2 separate regions of the Homo sapiens genome follow, and region 2 is linked to region 1. The links are contacts of gene promoters, found by promoter capture Hi-C in blood cells and fetal thymus (Javierre and others, 2016). All regions are on one chromosome and are shown on one strand. Each heading gives the region's core, a stretch centred on a gene start or on the middle of the fragment in contact. The rest is flanking DNA. Distances are from core to core; before and after follow the strand shown.

Region 1 (6,897 bases), core at 1,127-3,626:
ATCCGCCCGTCTCGGCCTCCCAAACTGCTGGGATTACAGGTGTGAGCCACCGCGCCTGGCTGCGGGAGGGATTATTTATATAAAATAATTAATAAAGGGTAGGTGGAGAATGTTTGGAGGGGTGAGGTTGGGAGAGGGAGGTGAGGTTAGATCATGCAGCTCTTTCAGTCCAGGTGAGGGGCTGAAAGTTTGTCTAAGGCACTGGGGAGCCCTGGGAGGGCCGTGAGCAGGGCAGGGGCAGGTCAGTTCCGGGCACAGAAAGACCACTCTGGAGCCTCACTTGTGGGGAGAGGAATGAGGGCGAGAGAATGGAGGATGGGGCGGCCAGGAGGCTGGGCCAGGTGTGGTGGCTCACACCTGTAATCCCAGCACTTTGGGAGGCTGAGGTGGGAGGATTGCTTGAGCCCCAGAGTTTGAGACCAGCTTGGGCAACACGGTGAGACTCCATCTTAAAAAAAATAAATAGCTGGGCGTAGTGGTGTGGGCCTGTGGTCCCCATTACTCGGGAGACTGAGGTGGGAGGATTGCTTGAGCCTGGGAGGTCAAGGCTGTTATACCGCTGCACTCCAGCCTGGGGGACACAGTGAGACCCTGTCTCAAAAACAAACAAACAAAAAAGGAGGCTGGGGCAAGGGTCCCAGCAGGAGAGGACGAGGTCTGAGTGGCTGCTAGAGCTATGGGAGTAGAGAGGAGAGGAAGGAGAGGCAGAAGGAATAGAACTTGGAGACAGATAGGCTGTGAGGGTCAGGTGTGCCTGTGGTCAAGGCAATCATGTCCTCCATCCCGCTGAGATAAAATTGCCAGCTGGAAATGGAAGACAGCTTGATGGGAGAGAAGCAGATGTGAAGATGCCAGGAGGGGGTCAGGGCCCCCAGAACTGAGTAAGACTATTTCAATCTGGACTGTTTTAATTGCTAATAACGGAAACGCAAATCAAATTGACCTAAGCATAAAAGGAAGTTTATTGATTGGATGAGGGCTTCAGGCATTGCTGGATCCAGGTGTTCCAATCATCTCCAGGAATCCAACTGTCTGTATCTTTGGGCTATGCTTCCCTCGTGTTGTCTTTGCTCTCAGGCAAGTTATCTCCCTGCATGGTGATGTGGTAGCACCGAGAGCTCCAACCCTGGCTCTGACCAGCCCCAAAACCACAGGGGAAAAACCCTGTTTTCTAACAGGTCCAGCAAAAGTCCAAAGGTTGACTTTGTAGCCTAGATTGATTCTTAAGCTCGCCACTGAACAAATCACTGAGGAAATCAAGGTGCCACCACCTAGAACGAATACTTAGTAAGCAGGAACAACAGACAGTCCAGAGACCATCTGGATGTGGAGAAAGAGGAAGAGAAAGAGATACAAGTAACAGAGACAAAGACTGCAAGGACAGACAAAACAAATAAGCGAAGGTCCAGCTTCCTCTCCCACAATTCCTGCAGAGAGCTCTGCAGACCCAGAGAAAGGGATGCTGAACAGGCACCTACACGGCTAGACCCCTTCTCTCTAGCACGAGAGGCCCCGTGAGACCCCAGACCCAGAAGTCCAGGCCCCCATCCTCTCCTCCCTCAGACCCAGGAGTCCAGACCCCAGGCCCTCCTCCCTCAGACCCAGGAATCCAGGCCCCCACCCCTCCCCCTCCCTCTGGAGGCACCATGGCAACCAGGCCCCCTGCCCACCATCCCCTCCCCACTAGAGAACCCACTTTCGTTGGAATCTCGCCTGTTTCTAACCAGTTCCTGGCTGGGGCAGGGATGAGCAGAGGGCAAGTGGGAACAGAAAGGGGATGACAGAGGGGAGGGGGCCTCAAGGGGGCAGTGGAGGCAGCTAGGAGAGGATAGAGATGGGGCAAGGAGACTGGTGAGAGGTGGGAAGACAGAGAGAGGGTGACGGGGTTAGGGAGAGGCAGAAAACGATGAAGACAAGGAGGGACGGGGGCCTGGGGAGATGCTGGGGAAACTGATGGAGACTGAAGAGATGGAGCCCAGGAGAGAAGGAGGGAGGAGGAGGGCAGAGAAATCAAGCAAAAGAGTGGTGGAGACGTGGGGACAGAGGGGAGGAGGCAGGGGGGCAGAGAGATGGGGAGAGAATGAGGAAGGGAGGTGGAGAGAGAGGGGTGGGGAAAGGGACTCTAGGAGACAGAGAGAGATAGGAGGAAAAACAGGGAAATGGGAAAGAAGGGATTGGGGCACACAGGGAGTCCCTGAGGTCAGGGGAACCCAGATCTCCACATGGTCTCAGCCTTCCAGTTCCTCTGTAATTCTACCCCGGGGCTTCAAAGAGGAGGTAGAGGAGGCAGCGGTGGGGAGAAGGAGCTGGGGTGGGTGGCCCAGGCAGAGCCTCTCTTGCCACCTTCCTGAGACATCCCTCACCCACCTTCCCAGGATGCAGCCAGAGGTGGAGCCCGTGTGCTTCCCTGCCATGGGCAGCCCCACCATGCACAGGAAGGCAGGTACTGAGCTGTGTCTTTGGGGGAAGGGGTGGACTTCCTCCATCCAGGCAGTGCGTAGTAGCCCGGGCTCACAGTGTGGCCTTAAGCGAGTCACTGGCACTCCAAAGTGAAAGCCATCCCTAGCATTCCTGGATTCACCAGATTCCTGGAGAGCGGCCCCCTTGGACCTCAAACTACATTTCCCATGAGCCTCTGCAGTTCCTTGGCCAATGCCCTGGACTCAGAACTACATTTCCCATGAGCCTCTGGGGCCTAAGCAACACCTCTGAGGCCATTCTTCTCCTAGGTAACCTCACTGTCTTGTCTCCCACCCTGAGCTCAGCATCTTCCCCCAAAGCTGCTCTCCTCCTTCCTGGTTTCCATTTTCAAATGGCCCCACCGCCAACCCAGTCACTGGTGCCATCCTTCCACCTCCCACAATTCCCTCCCACAGCCCATCAGGCCCTATCTTCCTGCCCTCTGACTCTCCCTTCCCCATTCCTTCCTCTCTGTCCCCGCAGCCCTGTCCCAGGTCTCATCCTCTTCCATGTGGACCCTCTCCTCACCTCCTCCCTGGTCCCCAGTTTCTCTCCTCCTACCTATCCCTCCATGGCTCCAGAGAGGTCTCTCTGACTTCCTGCAGTGATCCTGGCTGTCCCTTGCTCATAACACTTCCTAGCTTCCTGTCACCTCTAGGACAGAGACCCAAAGCTCCAGCCTGGCTTTTGAGGCCCTGTGTGGTCTGACCCCTGCTGACAACTTCAGGCTCCTAGCCCAGCACTTCCTGCTAGCACTCTGTGCTGTAGCACAGCTCATGCAGTTACACTCATTCAACATTTATGGAGTAGTATCTCAGTGAGGATGCATGTAACTGCAGGTAATAGAAAACCAAACTCAGGACTGGGTGTGGTGGCTCACGCCTATAATCCCAGCACTTTGGAGGCCGAGGTGAGTGGATCACCTGAGGTCAGGAGTTCAAGGCCAGCCAGCCTGGCCAACATGGTGAAACCCCATCTCTAAAAATACAAAAATTAGCCAGGTGTGGTGCCGGGTGCCTGTAATCCCAGTTACTAGGGAGGCTGAGGCAGGAGAATCGCTTGAACCCAGGAGGCAGAGGCTGCAGCGAGCCAAGATTGTGCCACTGCACTCCAGCCTGGGTGATGGAGGGAGACTCTGTCTCAAAAAACAAAACAAACAAACAAACAAACAAAAACACCCAAAACCAAAACTCACTGCAGCCTTGAGCTCCTGGCTCAAGTGATCCTCCCACCTCAGCCTTCGAGGCCGAACAAATGCCCTGATGGCAAAACAGGCGTTGTTTCTCTGCCTTTAGGTCTCTTTTAGTGCTTTTGAAGGCATCTTTCTTTTGGAGACCCCACAATGCACCATCTCTAGCCTAGACTGAGGCACCCACGTGACATGTAATTTATATGTAGCTCCAGAAAAGTCAAGTGGAGTTGAGTCGACCAGTTGGCTAGTTTTGTTGATCGACGTTTGTTCATTTCGATTTTGCTGTTTTCTTTGCAGCGTTGTGGAACCAATCACATTTTTTAGTTGATCAGGTTGCAAACTTCAGCATAGGCCATTAGAAAGCCCCTGGGTCCCAAGCATTTTGCCTGTAGTGCCTAATGGATGAAACGGCCTGGCTTGTTCTCATGCTGGGAGAGGAGACGTGAAACACGCCATCTCACAGATCATTCATAGCCTCCAATGGCAATAAGCGCTCTTTAGTCTTGGGGCTCAAGGGAATTCTGGGAAGTTCTTGCAGGTGACTCTCTTCTCTTTTGCTCAAAAACCTTGGCCCATGCTAGGCCCTTCATGGGAAACATCCTTCTCTCTGTCACCTCTTTATTTGGTAAATACCTTCTTATTCTTTAGGTCTCACTGTGGACACCTCCTCTAGAGAGCCTTCCCTGATTGCCCCTAGACCGGGAGACTGGGCTTTCCCTCCACCTTGTAACACTTTCATTGAAACACACATTGCCCTTTATCTGAGAGTTCTGAAAGGGCAGAGGTGTGTCTCATTCATCTCTTGGTCCCCAGCATCCTCCAAGGCACACAGGGGCCCTCTGAGATGCCTGTTAAAAAAATTTAACCAGCTACTTGGGAGGCTGAGACAGGAAGATCCCTTAAGCCCAGGAGTTCCTGGCTGCAGTGAGCTATGACTGCACCATGACCCTCCAACCTGGGCAACACAGTGAGACTCTGTCACCAAAGGAAAAAAAAAAAAGCTTGAAATGGTTGCATTTCCTCAATTTTTCAATAAGTACTTATTTTTAAGTTTATGCTTATGTTAATTTAATTACACATATACATTTAAATGTATTAAATACATTTACATATATTAAAATCACTGTTGTAACTAGAAATAGTTCTTATTTCTAATGTCATATTTCATGAGAAACTATTGTATTCACATTTTTTCACATGCATCTTTGATGCTGCTAGAGTTACTTTTTGATTCATTTAACGCTTGTACAAGGCTATTTTTTAAAATTAATTTATTGTGTTGAGACAGGGACTCACTTTGTAACCTAGGCTGGCATGAATTGACACCATTGTAGCTCACTGCAGCCTCAAAATCCTGGGCTCAAGCGATCCTCCTGCCTCAGCCTCCCAAAGTGCCGGGATGATAGGTGTGAACCACCATGCCCGGCCTATAATTATTTTTGAATATCATCTCATACCTAGTACATATTTAAATTTCCCTAATTATCTCAAAATTGTATTTTTTTATAGTTGGCTTGTTTAAATTAGGGCCCAAACAAAGTGCACACATTTCAGGCTTTATTCAATAAATACTAAGGACAACTATAAGCCTGGCACTTTGCTAGATGCTGGGGACGAAAACACAAGTCCCTGCCCTTACGTTGCTCAGAAGACGTAGGGAAGACAGAGTGTAATTAGGGAATCATAGAAATAAAGGTAAAATTGCAATACTATGAGTACAAACATACTGTGCTATGAGGAATGGCATCAGTGGACCCTCAGGGAGACTTGATTAGCCAAATGAGGGGGAAGAGAGATCCACGCAGAGTTACAGCATTGGCCAAGATCCTGCAGCAGGAGGGGTCAGAGAGTCCAAGTCGCAGAAAAACAGCGTTTTTGGACTGCAGCAGGTGAAAAGGACGATTGTGCTTGATCAGGTTTAAGACACTAGCACGGTCTGATCACGTGTGGTCTTATGGTCACTGGAAGGACTTTGGACTTTATTCATCCCACAGACAATGAAAAGTCCTGGGAGGGTTTTGAGGAAGGGGCCATAGGGTCAGGTCTACATGTCAAAATCCTGCCTTGCTGGGGTAACTGGAGAGCGAGAGGAGTTAGGAGACCAGGTGAGAGTGAGGTGAGAGGAAGGCACCTGGGGAGATTGAGAACACGCACACTGGATCCAGATGCTTACATTTTTATCCTTATTCTATCATTTTGTGCTGTGTGACTTTGGGCAAGTCACTTAACCTCTCTGTGCTTCTGTTTCATCATGTGTTAAACAACACTACCTCGGAAGGTTGTTGTGAGGATGCAATGGAAAGTATTTTATTCTATTCTATTTTATTTTATTTTGGCACTAGAGTCTTGCTTTGTCGCCCAGGATGCAGTGCAGTGGCACGATCCCGGCTCACTGCAATCTCTGCCTCCAGGGTTCAAGCAATTCTCCTGCCTCAGCCTCCGGAGTACCTAAGACTACAGGTGCGCGCTACCATGCCCGCCTAATTTTTTGTATTTTTAGTAGAGATGGGATCTCACCATGTTGGCCAGGCTGGTCTCGAACTCCTGAGCTCAGTCAATCTGCCCACTTTGGCATCCCAAAGTGCTGGGATTACAGGCGTGAGCTACTGTGCCCGGCCACAGTGGAAAGTATTTTTTAAAGTGTTTGGCATATAAAAGGGACAGTAAGCACATAGTTATATTGTTAAGTGGACAGACTTGAGGAGGGGATGGCTGTGTTTGAGGGATGGAGGGAGGCCGGTATGACTGGAAGAAAATAATGAGGGTAGGTATTTCTGGAAGGGGATCCCGTGAAAATGTAGATTTGAATCCAGTAGGTCTGGGGGTGGGCCCTGGAGTAAGTGTCTACCGCACGTGTGTGTGTGAGAGTGTGCAGGAGAGCCCGTTGTGAAACATATACCAGCACACCACTGACTATAGTTAAACCAAGTTGAATGTGTTGACTTATTGTAATGAGAGACAGCACACACACACACACACACACACACACACACACACACACACACACACACACACACACACGTTGTCTCAGTAGAAGGGTGTTAGCAAGGACTTATTGTTAGAGCCGGGCTGTGTCAGGTGACTTTGGGGAGGGTTCACGGGGGTGGGGCTTTGCTCTGGATGGGAGACTGATGGAAAGCACAGGCAAGCCCATGACTGGGAATCTTCATCTCATTGGGAACCAGGAGGGGTAGATGGAGCTAATGCTGGGGTTAATGAAAAAGCAGCCGTCGGCTCTGAGCTGG
Region 2 (6,897 bases), core at 1,827-4,326, 120 kb after region 1:
GGCCAGGAGAGTCTGCACTATGACTCACAGGGTCCTGCTCCATCTGCCCGCTTCCCTCTCTGCCTTCACCTCTTACCTCTCTTCCCATTGCCCACGTGGCTCCAGCCACACCGGCCTCCCTGCTGTTCCTTGAGCATTCCAGGCACCGTCCTGCCTCAGGACTTTGCACAAGCTGCTGGTTCTGCCTGAAGGGCTCTTCCTCCAGATACGTATGTGCCTCACTACTTTGTTATCTCCTCCAAATCTTTGCTCAAATGTTATATTCTTTTTTTTTTTTTTTGACATGGAGTCTCACCCTGTTGCCTAGGCTCGAGTGCAATGGTGTGATCTCGGCTCACTGCAACCTCTGCCTCCCAGGTTCAAGTGATTCTCCTGCCCCAGCCCTCTGAGTAGCTGGGATTACAGGTGGGAGCCTCCACGCCCAGCTAATTCTTTGTATCTTTAGTAGAGACGGGGTTTCACCATGTTGGCCAGGCTGGTCTCGAACTCCTGACCTCGTGATCCGCACCTCTCAGCCTCCCAAAGTGCTGGGATTACAGGCATGAGCCACTGAGCATGGACAAATGTTACATTCTTATCGGGGTCTTCCCTGACCACCCTGTTTAATGTACCAGTGGCCCCTTTCTGTCTCATCCTTCACATTCCCAGTTGTCCTTATCTTGATTTTTTTTTTTTTTTTTTTTTTTTGGTGACAGAGACTCACTCTGTCACCCAGGCTGGAGTGCAGTGGCCTGATCTCGGCTCACCACAACCTCCAGCTTCCCAGATTCAAGCGATTCTCCTGCCTCAGCCTCCCAAATGCCTGCGATCACAGGTGTGTGCCACCGCACCTGGCTAATTTTTTTATTTTTATTAGTGACGGGGTTTTGCCTTGTTGGCCAGGCTGGTCTCGAACTCCTGACTTCAAGTGATCTGCTCACCTCGGCCTCCCAGTGTGCTGGGATTACGGATGTGAACCACTGCGCTTGGCCTTACCTTGATCTTTTTCTAAAGAAAACATTTCATGATCTTCATTTCTTCCTGTCAATATGTGTCACCATGTGATATTAACTCCTTTCAGCCTAGAGGACTTACTTCCTTAAGCAATTCCTGCGGTCTGTAGGCCATATATTATTTCAGATCTGGCTTATCTGAAAATGCCCTTTTTTCACTTTCATTTTTGAAAGATATTTTCACAGAATATAAAATTCTGGATTGACAGACTTTTCTGCTGCCAATTTTTTCAAATAGTGGAGTAATTTTTAATATTTTGTCCAGATTTTAATTTTTTTTTTGTCTGTGGCACCATTTGTCTGACAAAGTTACTCTGACATTATCCAAAGTTAAAAGAACCTCCATCTCATTATTTTTACTTTATTTTTATTGAGACAGGGTCTCGCTTTATCACCCAGGCTGAAGTGAAATGGCGTGACCATGGCTCATTGCAGCCTCGAATTCCAGGGCTCAAGTGACCCTCGTGTCTCAGTCTCCCAATTTGCTGGGACTACAGGCACGTGCCACCATACCTGACTAATTTTTTTTTTTTTTTTTTTTGAGACAGAGTCTTGCTCTGTTGCCTGGGCTGGAATGAAGTGGCACGATCTTGGCTCACTGCAGCCCCTGCCTCCCAGGTTCAAGGGACTCTCCTGCCTCAGCCTTCAGAGTAGCTGGGATTACAGGCACGCACCACCAAGCCTGGCTAATTTTTGTATTTTTAGTAGAGACAGGCTTTTGCCATGTTGGCCAGGCTGGTCTCGAACTCCTGAACTTAAGTGATCCACCAGCCTCAGCCTCCCAAAGTGCTGGGATTACAGGAATGAGCCACTACGCCCATCTCACGGCTAATTTTTAAATTTTATTTTATTTTTATTTTTTTGAGACGGAGTTTCGCTCTCGTTACCCAGGCTGGAGTGCAGTGGCGCGATCTTGATTCACTGCAACCTCCGCCTCCCAAGTTTAAGTGATTCTTCAGCCTCATGAGTAGCTGGGATTACAGGTGGCTGCCACCACACCCAGCTAATGTTTTTTGTATTTTTAGTAGAGACGGGGTTTCGCCATGCTGGGCAGGCTGATCTCGAACTCCTGACCTCAGGTGATCCGCCTACCTCAGCCTCCCAAAGTGCTGGGATTACAGGCGTGAGCCACTGTGCATGGCCACAAAAACTTGTAATTATTTATTTTTTGTAGAGACGGTCTCACTATGTTGCCCACCTTGGTTTGGAACTCCTGGCTTCAAGCAATCCTTCTGCCTCAGCCTCCCAAAGTGTTGTGATTACAAGCATGAGCCACCACACCTGGCCCCTCCATTTCATTTATTATTTTTCCATAACACTTGTAGTCTTCTAAAGCAGTATATCATGAAGTAAATTTATTATATGTATTACACCTGACATCTCTCACTGGGATGTAAGTTCCATGAGGGCTTGTTTTGTTACACGAGTTATGTCCAGTACTTAGAACAATATTATAGTGTCCAGTGAGCCGAGATCGTGCCATTGCACTGCAGCCTGGGTGACATAAGGAGACTCTGTCTCAAAAAAAAAAAAAAAAAAAGAACAATATTATTGTGTCATAAAAAGCATTCAGGCTGGGCTCAATGGCTCACACTTGTAATCCCAGCACTTTGGGAGGCTGAGGTGGGAGGATCACTTGAAGCCAGGAGTTCAAGACCAGCCTGGGCAACACAGCAAAACCCCATCTCTACAAAAAAGAATTTAAGGCCTGGCAGAGTGGCTCACACCTATAATCCCAGCACTTTGGGAGGCTGGTGGACGGGTCACGAGGTCAGTAGTTCAAGACCAGCCTGGCCAACATGGTAAAACCCTGTCTCTACTAAAAACAGAAAAATTAGCCAGGTGTGGTGGCATGTGCCTGTAGTTCCAGCTACTTGGGAGGCTGAGGCAGGAAAATTGCTTGAACCTTGGAGGTGGAGGTTGCAGTGAGCCGAGATCATACCATTGCACTACAGCCTGGGTGACAGAGAGAGCAAGACTCTGTGTCAAAAAAAAAAAAAAAAAAAAAAGGTAAAAAAATTAGCCAGGCATGGTGGTAAGTGCCTGTAGTCCCAGCTACTCCAGGAGGCTGAGGGGGGAGGATCTCTTGAGCCTAGGAGGTGGAGGCTGCAGTGATCTGTGATTGTACCTTTGCACTCCAGCCTGGGTGACAGAGCATGACGCTGTCTCTAAAAGAATAATAATAATAAGCATTCCATAAAAATTATGGAATGGAGAAATCATGAATGGGGTCTCGGAGGGGACCAGAGGCTGCAGTGACAGGCAACCTGGGGTCCTGACACGTGATCGCTCTTGTTCCAGGAAGATGAACTCTTCCGGATGCCTGTCTGAGGAGGTGGGGTCCCTCCGCCCACTGACTGTGGTTATCCTGTCTGCGTCCATTGTCGTCGGAGTGCTGGGCAATGGGCTGGTGCTGTGGATGACTGTCTTCCGTATGGCACGCACGGTCTCCACCGTCTGCTTCTTCCACCTGGCCCTTGCCGATTTCATGCTCTCACTGTCTCTGCCCATTGCCATGTACTATATTGTCTCCAGGCAGTGGCTCCTCGGAGAGTGGGCCTGCAAACTCTACATCACCTTTGTGTTCCTCAGCTACTTTGCCAGTAACTGCCTCCTTGTCTTCATCTCTGTGGACCGTTGCATCTCTGTCCTCTACCCCGTCTGGGCCCTGAACCACCGCACTGTGCAGCGGGCGAGCTGGCTGGCCTTTGGGGTGTGGCTCCTGGCCGCCGCCTTGTGCTCTGCGCACCTGAAATTCCGGACAACCAGAAAATGGAATGGCTGTACGCACTGCTACTTGGCGTTCAACTCTGACAATGAGACTGCCCAGATTTGGATTGAAGGGGTCGTGGAGGGACACATTATAGGGACCATTGGCCACTTCCTGCTGGGCTTCCTGGGGCCCTTAGCAATCATAGGCACCTGCGCCCACCTCATCCGGGCCAAGCTCTTGCGGGAGGGCTGGGTCCATGCCAACCGGCCCAAGAGGCTGCTGCTGGTGCTGGTGAGCGCTTTCTTTATCTTCTGGTCCCCGTTTAACGTGGTGCTGTTGGTCCATCTGTGGCGACGGGTGATGCTCAAGGAAATCTACCACCCCCGGATGCTGCTCATCCTCCAGGCTAGCTTTGCCTTGGGCTGTGTCAACAGCAGCCTCAACCCCTTCCTCTACGTCTTCGTTGGCAGAGATTTCCAAGAAAAGTTTTTCCAGTCTTTGACTTCTGCCCTGGCGAGGGCGTTTGGAGAGGAGGAGTTTCTGTCATCCTGTCCCCGTGGCAACGCCCCCCGGGAATGATGGAAGACTTCAGCTGGAAGCTGGAAGCCGTCCTTCTTAGTTTGCTTGTGGCCTCTTACCTTGACTGGCTTCTAAAACCCTGCCAAATCCTGCCTCTTCTTTCAGGAAGTCTTCCAGCAACCCCTCATCTAAAGCTCTGTGGTAGAGACAGCTACTTACTCCCCAGTGTCCATTCTTCCCCGCCCCCCCCCCCTTTTTTTTTTGAGATAGAGTCTTGCTCTGTCACCAGGCTGGACTGCAGTGGCGCGATCTCGGCTCACTGCAACCTCTGACTTTCTGGTTCAAGCAATTCTGCCTCAGCCTCCCGAGTAGCTGGGATTACAGGCACGTGCCACCACGCCCAGATAATTTTTGTATATTTTTTAGTAGAGACGGGGTTTAACCACGTTGGCCAGGATGGTCTCAATCTCCTGACCTTGTGATCCGCCTGCCTCGGCCTCCCAAAGGGCTAGGATTACAGGCGTGAGCCACTGCACCTGGCCCATTCTTTCCCTCTCTTTTTCTTTTTTTTAAAAATTTTTTAAAGACAGGGTCTGATTTTGTCACCCAGGCTGGAGCGCAGTGGCAAAATCTCGGCTCACTGCAGCCTTGACCTTCAGGGCTCAAGCCATTCTCCTGCCTCAGGACTCCCCACGCCCCACCCCCCACCTCCCCTCACCCTGCCTAGTACCTGGGACTATAGGCATGTGCTACCTGGGTAATTTGTAGACACGGGGTTTCATCATGTTGCCCAGAGTGGTCTCAAACTCCTGAGTTCAAGTGATCCTCCAGCCTCGGCTCCCAAAACTACTGGGATTACAGGTGTGAGCCACAGCACCTGGCCTCCCCTTTTTTGGTAGTAAAACTCCTGTGTTCTAATGAGGCACGGTGCTTAACTAGAAAAAAGGAAAGACTACATTTCCCAGTATCCTTTGCATGTAGGTACAACCATGTGACTGCTTTCTGACCAATAGGATGTAAGAGGCAGCAATCAATGTAACTTCCTTCAAGGGCCCCTTAAATGGAAGGGGTCTGCCCTCCATTTCCCCATTTCCCCCTTTCTATTGTCCGGAATGCAGATGTATCAGTTACCTTTTGCTGTGTAACAAAAACCTTCCATGTTTAGAGGCTTAAAAATATAAGTTTTTTTTTTTTTTCTGATAGGGTCTTGCTCTGTTGCTCAGGCTGGAGTGCAGTGGTGTGATCACAACTCACTGCCACCTCAATCTCCCAGGCTCAAGTGGTCCTCTCACCTCAGCCTCCTGAGTAGCTGGCATGTGCCACCCCATGCCAGGCTAATTTTGTATTTTCAGTAGAGATGGGGTTTCTCCATGTTGGCCAGGCCGGTCTCAAAATCCTGACCTTGAATGATCTGCCCGCTTCAGCCTCCCAAAGTGCTGGAATTACAGGCATGAGCCACCACACCTGGGCAGAACTACTTCTTTGAATCATGAGCAAGTGGTGTGACAGCTTCTGGATTGCATGACATTTTTCTTTTGCCTCGACCTAGAGCCAAGGGAATGGCCTGTTGTGACCAGGGACCACTGGGACTTCAATCCCCAGAAAGGACTATTCTTTACATGCATCAGTTTGGTTTTGGGGTGTTTTAAGTAACAGAAAACCTGACTCCAACTGGCTTCAACAATAAGGAAATTTATCAAGTCACTTCACACAAGTTCCAGAGGTTGGCAGCATAATTAATAGTTAAGGGGTAGATTCAGCTGTTGCAGGAGAGACACAAAATAACAGTGGCTTCAATGAGCTGGGATTTGAAACCTCCCCTTTCACAACCTGGGTGTAAGCATCTCAGGGCTGGCCTAGGGACTCCCGGGGGACACGGTAGCTTTGCATCAGGGCTGCTGTGGCAGATTACACAAATGGCCCCCGTTCTGCATACCTTCCTGCATGCGTGCTCCTTAGCAATGTCACTCTTTAGATTTTCCCATCAAGGGGTGGAGTCCTTTCCTCACACCTTGAATCTAAGCCAGGCTCGTGACTTGCTTTTTGACCAGTAGCTTGAGTGCTAGTCACCTTGTGCAGAGTTCTGAGCCTCCCCCTCATACTTTCCTTACTCTTGGAACCCTCCCCAACCATCACACGAAAAAGCCAGCCTGCAGGATGATAAGAGCTATGTCTCTAGTAAACATACAAAAATTAGCCGGGCATGGTGGCAGACACCTGTAATCCCAGCTACTTGGGAGACTGAGGCAGGAGAATCGCTTGAACCTGGGAGACAGAGGTTGCAGTGAGGCAAGATCTCATCACTGCACTCCAGGCTGTGTGACTGAGACTCTGTCTCAAAAAAAAAAAAAAAAAGAAAGAAAGAAAAAGAAAATAAAAGAAATGTAAAAGAAAAAAAAAAAAAGCAGCAGCTCTGACTTGCCCTGAGAACTCCACCTCTCAGAGCCTCGGTTGCCCCAAGTCTATAAAATAGAAGCAAGTGTTTCCATCTTCTGGATGAGGAGATTAAATGACACAGTGACTGAGTGCCAGGAAACACAGACGCACCTTAAAAAAATTAACTCCTGTGGGAGGCTGAGCGGGGAGGATTGCTTGAGCCCAGGAATTCGAGACCAGCCTGGGCAACATGATGACACCCCATCTGTACAAGAGATTGGCATGGTGACGCATGCC

Evidence for each region. Contacts are between HindIII fragments. The CHiCAGO score rates a contact against its expected background, and 5 or more counts as called.
Region 2: a contact is called between the fragment with the promoter of GPR32 here and the fragment with the promoter of C19orf81 in region 1, in 16 of 17 cell types (erythroblasts, megakaryocytes, M0 macrophages and 13 more). The highest score is 13.1, in erythroblasts.

What each region holds. Positions count from the first base shown.
Region 1 is chr19:50,647,069-50,653,965 of GRCh38, forward strand. It overlaps C19orf81 (chromosome 19 open reading frame 81), which reads left to right and starts at 2,377. Exons shown (of 5, transcript NM_001195076.2): 1 at 2,377-2,443. The coding sequence starts at 2,377. It also overlaps a transcript of SYT3 not described here. RefSeq lists an enhancer at 1,261-1,310. The HindIII fragment of the contact is 10,880 bases long and covers 1-4,651 here.
Region 2 is chr19:50,767,388-50,774,284 of GRCh38, forward strand. It overlaps GPR32 (G protein-coupled receptor 32), which reads left to right and starts at 3,077. Exons shown (of 1, transcript NM_001506.2): 1 at 3,077-4,345. The coding sequence starts at 3,214. The coding sequence ends at 4,284. The HindIII fragment of the contact is 17,473 bases long and covers 1-6,897 here.